2 separate regions of the Homo sapiens genome follow, and region 1 is linked to region 2. The links are contacts of gene promoters, found by promoter capture Hi-C in blood cells and fetal thymus (Javierre and others, 2016). All regions are on one chromosome and are shown on one strand. Each heading gives the region's core, a stretch centred on a gene start or on the middle of the fragment in contact. The rest is flanking DNA. Distances are from core to core; before and after follow the strand shown.

Evidence for each region. Contacts are between HindIII fragments. The CHiCAGO score rates a contact against its expected background, and 5 or more counts as called.
Region 1: the fragment with the promoter of TXLNB here is called in contact with the fragment with the promoter of CCDC28A in region 2 in 3 of 17 cell types (fetal thymus, naive CD8 T cells and total CD8 T cells); the score reaches 7.4 in fetal thymus.

Annotation. Positions count from the first base shown.
Region 1 is chr6:139,290,566-139,294,778 of GRCh38, reverse strand. It overlaps TXLNB (taxilin beta), which reads left to right and starts at 2,781. Exons shown (of 10, transcript NM_153235.4): 1 at 2,781-2,858. All of the region lies in intron 4 of LOC102723690 (a long non-coding RNA gene), which reads right to left. RefSeq lists enhancers at 3,557-3,806, 4,007-4,066 and a silencer at 3,653-3,947. The HindIII fragment of the contact is 5,007 bases long and covers 2,581-4,213 here.
Region 2 is chr6:138,771,980-138,775,815 of GRCh38, reverse strand. It overlaps CCDC28A (coiled-coil domain containing 28A), which reads right to left and starts at 2,047. Exons shown (of 6, transcript NM_015439.3): 1 at 1,914-2,047. CCDC28A-AS1 (CCDC28A antisense RNA 1) reads left to right here and starts at 2,113. Exons shown (of 3, transcript NR_161205.1): 1 at 2,113-2,301. RefSeq lists enhancers at 1,735-1,794, 2,155-2,214, 2,235-2,284, 1,648-2,321, 2,322-2,996. The HindIII fragment of the contact is 8,118 bases long and covers 145-3,836 here.

The sequences.
Region 1 (4,213 bases), core at 1,532-4,031, 520 kb before region 2:
ACCTCAAGTGATCCACCTGCCTTGGCCTCCCAACGTGCTGGTATTACAGCCGTGAGCCAGCGTGCCGGGCCAACAATGGAAATTTATTTCTCATAGTTCTGTAGGCTGGAAAGTCTAAGATCAAGGTGCAGGCAAATTCTGTGTCTGGTGACTTCCTCGTACAAAGCCTTCTTCTCACTGCACCCTCACATGGCAGAGGGGTAAGGGGTTTCTTTCAGACCTTTTTTATGAGAACACTAATCCCATTCATAAAAGCTCTACCCTCATAATCTAATCACTTCCCAAAGGCCCCACCTCCTCATACCATCACCTGGGGGTTTATGATTTCAACACATGAATTTTGGGGGGACACAAACATTCAGACCATAGCAAGCAGTAAATGATGCAGCCGTATCAAATGAGAGCCCCATGAAATCATAGCAGGCCATATGAATAAAAACTATGTAATAATTTGAATGAATCAAGTGTTGAGGAAATTCCCAAACCACATTGTAGAAGAGTACCAGAAACTCAAAAAACCCAGCAGTCAATAGAGTATTCATGTTGCAAGCAGCAATTTAAGTTCAGCAAAACAATATCTGTCACATAAAAGTAGTGTTATTAATTTGAGTCGCATTTATTGATTTTGTAGGCTTTAAAATGTATACATTTTAAAATTTATGTAACTACTGTAAGCATAAGGAATTTATCCTATTTTCATTTTAGTACATGTAGGTTCAAATAATAATATAATCCTTCAAATAATTTCCACATTATTTAAATTATTCTGTTAAGTGAGTCTATACATTATTTAAATTTGAAAAGCACTGACTTGTTTATATTTACTAAGAGATGTGATCGGGTCAGTTTGCTACAATCCAGGATGGAATGCCACCCAATTTGTGGCACTCACCAAGTATTCATTAATTTAGAAGAAAGTGCTTTTCTCTTTCATCAATTTTAATTCACTAACTTAATTATCAAATAATATAGTGAACAGCTTCATTGTCTTCAACACTGGAATTTCTTTATCCTGACTTCTGCTTGTTGGGTGCACTCATCTATATATAACTTATGCCTCCCCTAAACTCAGAGAATAAGTAGGACAAAACTGGGGGTGGGATGTTTTCATTTCCTTTTGTTGCCATAACATCTTATCACAAATTTAGCAGCTTAAAAATAACATAAGTTTGCTATTTTATATTTCTGGAGGTCGGAAATCCAAAACGAATTTCTTTGATCTAAGATCAATGTCGCAGGATTGCATCCCTCTGGAGGCTCTAGAGTATAATCTGTTTCCTTGCCTTTCCCAGCTTCTAGAAGCTTCCTGACCTATGCTGAGGTCATCAAATCTCCTTTTCTGCCTCCAATCCTACTGCCTTCCTCCCTCATTTATAAAGACCCTTATGAGGCTGAGTGCAATGGCTCACGCTTATAATCCCAGCACTTTGGGAGGCCGAGGTGGGCGGATCATGAGGTCAGGAGTTCGAGACCAGCCTAGCCAACACAGCGAAACCCCGTCTCTACTAAAAATACAAAAATTAGCTGGATGTGGTGGCAGGCGCCTGTAATCCCAGCTACTTGGGAGGCTGAGGGAGGAGAATCGCTTGAACCCGGGAGGTTGCAGTGAGCTGAGATTGCACCACTGCACTCCAGCCTGAGTGACAGAGCGAGACTCTGTCTCAATAAATAAATAAATAAATACCCTTATGATTACATTGAACCCACCCAGTAGTTCAAGATAACCTCCCTACCTCAGGATCCTTCCTCACATCTGCAAAGTCTCTTTTGTCATGTAAAGAAACATATTCACAGGTTCCAGGGAGTAGGACGTGGAGATCTTTTGGGTGGCATTATTCTGCCTCCCACAAGGGATGCCACTATGCCTAGCCTGTCCCCAGAGCAGAAACCGATGGAGGAATCTGCTTTGGAAGTATGGGAACACAAGCTCCAGAAAGAAAAATAAAAGGCAAATGGATGTAAATTAATAGACAGGCATTTTATGGTGAATCAGAAGGAATTTCTTTTTCTGAGGAGGATCAAGGAGCATGTTGAGGATTTACAAAATGTGGGAAAGCCACCAACTAAGGAAGAAAAAGCAGACTGCTTCCCTGAGGGTTTGTTTGAGATGGGAAGAGTTACCTGGGAAAGACTGTGCTCCAAGGTCACACCAATTACCACGTGCATGAAGATTATACTCAGTTCAGCTCCAAAATCACCATCTACATGTTTATTTCAAACTTTGCAAACAAACCAAACAATGACATCAGAATTAAAATGGTTCCACCACCTCCCTGTTCTTATGCCATTGTTTTTCTTTTTCCATGATTCCTGTAAGAAACCTGACACTAATTAAGCTAGTGCAAGAAGAAGAAGAAAAAGAAGATGAATCTTCCACCACACTGGAGATAACCCAAGAAGTAAGAAAAACTGATCTCTACCCAAAAAGGACAACAATGGTGAAAGACTGCATTTGCAACGGGGGTAATATACTCAGAGTTTAAATTTCCGAAAGGACAAACAAAACATGGAGAGTCTAATGAGATCTTCCAGCTGCTTCTCTCTGCTAAGGTATTTCCCCTGGCAACAGCTAGGGAAGCTTGGGTGTATTTTCCCCTTGCTGTGTCATATGATGTTCCTTTCCCTACCCCCACCTCCTCCAGACTGCTGCCTCCATCAGTGCCTGTGGCGTGTGTGTGTGTGTGTGTGTGTGCGCGCGCGTGCGTGCACGTGTGTATGTGTGTGTGTGTGTATTGGGTTTCTCTCTCCCTTGTAAGAACACAGCCAGCCCGCCCTCTCCTGCTGTTGCTGCAGCTCTGACTTGCTTTTTCCTGCCTCCTTCCTCTCCTCTCTCTTCTTGCTTAGCTTCTTGCCTTCTGGTAAGTATGACAAACACTCCCCCAAGCCCTGTGAGAAGGTATAGGGTGCGGTTTGTGGTGTTCGAAACTTGCAACTTTGAGATTGCCAGTGAACTGTTGGAGAACTTTTCATTGTTGTATTTATAAATAAAATGTGTTGCTTAGGGAGGGATGTGTCTGTGATAGTCATCTGGAATAGCCAACACAAGTGAAAAGTTCTCTCCCTGGGGAGGGGAAAATAAGGCAATAAAGTTTATATAAGATAAAAGTTAGAAATAATTTCTTTGCCACATAATATAAAATGGATGATTGAAAAGTAACAAAGTTCTCTGACTTTGTTTTTTTCCCTCTTGTTAACTTGTCTTGAGGCTACTTTTGGGAATTGAATTGTCCTGGGCTTTATAATGACTGTTCTGTTTTAAAGTAAATGTGGAACAGGAGTTTAAAGAATAGCCATGGAATTAAGAATTTAAAAAATCAATGATTGTGGCATCTCATGAAGAATAAATCAAATACAAACAGCCACTTGCATTTAGACTAACCGAAGTAAAACTCCTATGGACAGCTTATCTTAAATTAATTATTTTGAAGTTCATTTTACTTGAGATTTTATTTCATCCTAAGATAGTCTCCCCGACTTTAAAACCCATGTATGGATTTAAGCCACTAAATGTTTACTGTTTTCAATTTGACTGAAAAACGATTCTCTTGATTTTCAAGGATGAAGTGCTAAACGGCATGACTCATTTTAGAATAGCTTAAAATAACTTCTGGCTGGACAGCAGGTGCCGTGTGTCTTTCTCCGTGTTCAGGGGAGGCCTAAGTTATATATAGATGAGTGCAATCAACAAGTGAGGTCAGGAAAAGAAATCCCAGTGATGAAAATAATGAAACTGCTGCATTATTTGATAATCAAGTTGGTGAATTCAAACCAGTGAAAGAAAAAAAGTACTTCCTCTAAGTTATGAGTGTTTGGTGAGCATCACAAGTCAGTGGCAACATCTGTGTGTTGAATTTTCTGTTCTTGTTGGTGTCTGAGCATTCAATTGACATCTACTGCCCTGAGAACAGGAAAAGGAAGCTGTGCAGTTGTAGAACAGTATGCTTTTGTTTTCACTTTCATGTTACCACAACAGCAAAACCTGTGAATTATGAGGATCTTGCCACATTTTTATGCTGCTATTTAGCAGCATCACTGTTAAATATTATTTACAAATAAAATGCACCATAACTTAAAGGCCTAAACCAAATCTATTGCAACTCTAGAAGTGGTAATAGTCAGAAACCCTGGAATCTCTGACTCAGTACCATCTCTCACCCTTTCCTAAGGGCCCTTATTATTGCTGAATTATTTCTCGAGTTGGTCTCCTCCTTGT
Region 2 (3,836 bases), core at 798-3,297:
TCCACAAGCCAGACACTATTGTGGGTACTGGAGAGACGGCACTGAACAAGGTGTTTGACCTCAAGAAGCCTACATTTTACAAGGGGAACAACATATAAACAATAAACAAATGATCCACATAATATTCCCAGCCTGATTCAAGCTTCAGGTGGCCTTTAGGTCTTTCTTCCAAAATGTATGCTTAAGAAGAACCAAGTAGATTCAAACAGATGTATAATTGTCATAGGGATTTTACTAGCATTTTAAAAATCAACTAGAAGCCTTACTTCAACTACTAAACAGAAACTCAGTTTCTAGCTAGGGCTAATAATGATTCTAGCTTGGTGATAAGTGAAGTTCTAGAAAATCAAACTTGTTCGTTGCCTATTTTGAATATACTTTCTCTAACCATTTCCAAACAAACGTGAATTTTATGATATATATTTAGTTTTGCCCATATCAAAAAAGTTAACAATGTGAAGTTACAGATGGCCCTTCCATGCGGAATACGTGTAAGGCCTCCTAGTTATCCCTACACAATCCCCTTACTTTATCTATTAATCCGCTCTATTTTCTAACATCCATCTATTTAAAAAATACCCTTCCGGCCGGGCTCACGCCTGTAATCCCAGCACTTTGGAAGGCCAAGGCGGGCGGATCACGAGGTCAGGAGATCGAGACCATCCTGGCTAACACGGTGAAACCCCGTCTCTACTAAAAATACAAAAAATTAGCCGGGAGTGGTGGCGGGCGCCTGTAGTCCCAGCTACTCAGGAGGCTGAGGCAGGACAATGGCATGAACCCGGGAGGCGGAGCTTGCCCTGAGCCGAGATGGTGCCACTGCGACAGAGCGAGACTCCGTCTCAAAAACAAAACAAAACAAAACAAAACAAAACAAAAAAACCCCTTCCATACTTTATTTGTGCATAGTGTTAAATTTTTCTTAACTTCATTATTTCATATATCATAAGATGAATTTATATGGCTATCTCTACCTCATCAGGTTGTAAATTGCCTTCTAGAAACATTAGGCCGTTTTTGGCATGCTGTGTTTAATTTAGGCATGCCATGACCATTCAAAAAGATTCAAACCCATTGCTGTCGCTTAAAATAATTATTTGATGAATTCAATAAATTTTTCTTTTTCCTTTTGCCTGGACTTAGTGCCACTGGCACTGGAATTTAAACCACTGAGCTTAAATTGGCTGACGCTAGACAATTACAACTGGAGCTACAATACTGCCAAAGAAGAGGCTTTCTGGGAAAGGCTCCAATGCCCAGTCTCTAATCCCAGATACCACTGGGTGTCAATCCACTTAAACCTTGGCTAACAATTTTTCTTTTAAGAAGCATTTTTTGTAACAGAACAATAATTCTGGTGTTGTTTCAACATGCAACACAAATTAAATGAGAGTTTGAAAGATGACTGAATAGAGACGATTAGTTCTCTGAAGAGGCAAGGATCTGTAAAAATGTATGATACGCATAAACACGCTGGCCTGAAATTTAACGATGCTAATACACACTTGGTGGTACAAGAAAAAAAAATCTAGGAAGTAAAGCAATGCAAATAAACCAGTGGTGGTCTAAACCACAATATTCTGCGGAGCCAGCACTCGCGATTTCCTCGTTTTTGGAAAATTACATCTGTCACAAGAGCACTGAAACCCTTCCTGTATATCAAACAGCAAAGAATGTTTTAGAGAAGGCATAATAAGTAAACTGCTCATAGTTACTTATTCACACAGTGGTTTTAAGTGCCAGGTCTTGCCTCCAAGCAGTACCACTGGGCATCCCTCTTGACATCACCTCATTCCCCTTCCCCAATCTACCGAAGCGATGACCCTTCACCGCCCAGTACCCAGCAGTGACCAGAGTGGTGGGAAGGGCCTAAAGGGGCAGGTTGCGGAGGTTCCTTTGCTTCCACTACATACCTGAAGAAGAAGGGTATTGGGGCCCCCTTCCGCAACCCGCAAAGACCCGACAGCCTCAGAAGCCACCGCCGCAGCCACAAGCAGAGCCCCGGTCACATCCCGGGACCCGCTCCTCCGCAGCTCCGTTTGTTTACGGAAGTGACGTAAGAGGTACAGCCTCCATGCCCCAAGCGGAAGCCCCGCCTTTTCCTGCTCCCCCAGTGTCGCTCTTGGCTCCGCCCTCGGCATTTCATTGCTTCCCCTGTCCTTCCTTTAGCTGTAACTCCGGCGGGCGTGTTGGGTGTGTCGTTTTAGGCTCTGTGACCCAGGAGCAAGACGCAATAAGCGGGTGCAGTGGAGGTAGAAACGGGAAATGCAGTACCCTTTCCGGAAGCTACTCCGCCCCTCGGTGAGTGTTAGATTCCCCCCCCGAACTACAATTCCCAGAATGCTGTTCGAGCATGCCCGAAGGCGGAACCAGAGTGTCGCCATGCAACTGTTCCTTGGTTGTTTCCGATTGGTTGCCCGGACTTCTCGCGGCTAAACTAATTTTGGCTCCAAGGCGGCGTGAAGAGTGTGATTCTGTTCAGCGACCGTGATTCTGTTCAGCGACCATGATGTTGAGCCCCTAATTGAGAGTCTGTTACCACTATTAATAGCTACTCTGTTCGGGCCCTACACATAACGGTGTATCTAAACCTCTCTACAATTTTATGGGTAGGTGTTATACTCTCTGTTTTACAAATGGGGAATTTGAGGCTCAGAAAGGCTAATTGATGCAGGTGTCTCTCTGTCGTCAAAGATAGTTCTACTTCCACTATACTTAAAGCCTCTGGAGAAGGAATTGCAGGCTGAGAGAAAGAGATCTATCTTAAATGAGGGAAGAAATGCACGTTTCATTGCCTGGTCTGGGTAGCCTTCCCGGTGTTGGAGTGGGAGGTGGGAAGGTTTTAGATTCACAGGTCCTTAGATTGAAGGGACTCTGGAGGAACACCACATAGCACCCCCCGCATTAGCTAATGGGGAAACCATATCTAGAGATTGTATCCATGCCAGAAAAGGCAGAGCAAAGACAACCCCAGTCTCTTGGCTTCTAGGATAGGATGTTCTTCCGCCACCCGCCATTTAAAAAAAAAAAACAAAACTATTGAAATGTTAAAAAAAAAAAGCACAGAATAAACAACGCACCCACTATCCAGAACGAACAGATTTATGAATGAAAGAAATGGAGCATTACAGATAAAGAAGGTGTTCCCTATTCTCAGTCCCATTCTACTACCACCCTCAGAGAGGCAACCAGGATCATGAATTTGATATGTATCTTGCCAATCTAGGTTTCTATATTTAAACTATTACTATGTATTATAAACAATATGTAGAATGGTTTGGGGCATTTGAAGTTTTACATGAATGCTATTATATTTTGTGTATTGATCTGCAACTTGATTTTTTCACCAAATTCTGTGTTTTTGAGAGCTATCCACATTGATAAATATAGCTAGACTTTATCAAATAGATTTGTCACAAATTATTTGGGAATTCCCATAGTGATGGATGTTTAGGTTGTTTCCCATTTTTCACCATTACAAACACTACTGTACAGTCTGCTCAATATCTTTTCCCAGTTTCTCCTTTTAATTAATGTCGAATTGTCTTATTTGTATGAACAGAGCTTGCAACTGGTGATTCACATGCTACTTTTTTTTTTTTCAAATTGGTTGCTAACAGCTAAAATTGAAAGAATAAAAACAATGTGGCATCCCATGAATTAACGGGAAGATCTGACTACGTTAGATGTGCATTGTAGCCTGGCAACAATGGTTCAAGCTGGAAAGCATCTGCCTCCTTTACCTCAGTTCAAGTAATATCTAGTTTTTCTTTGTCTTTAGTACCCATCTGAGCCCTGTAGCATTTGTGTTTACAACCTCCAACATGATGTAGGGA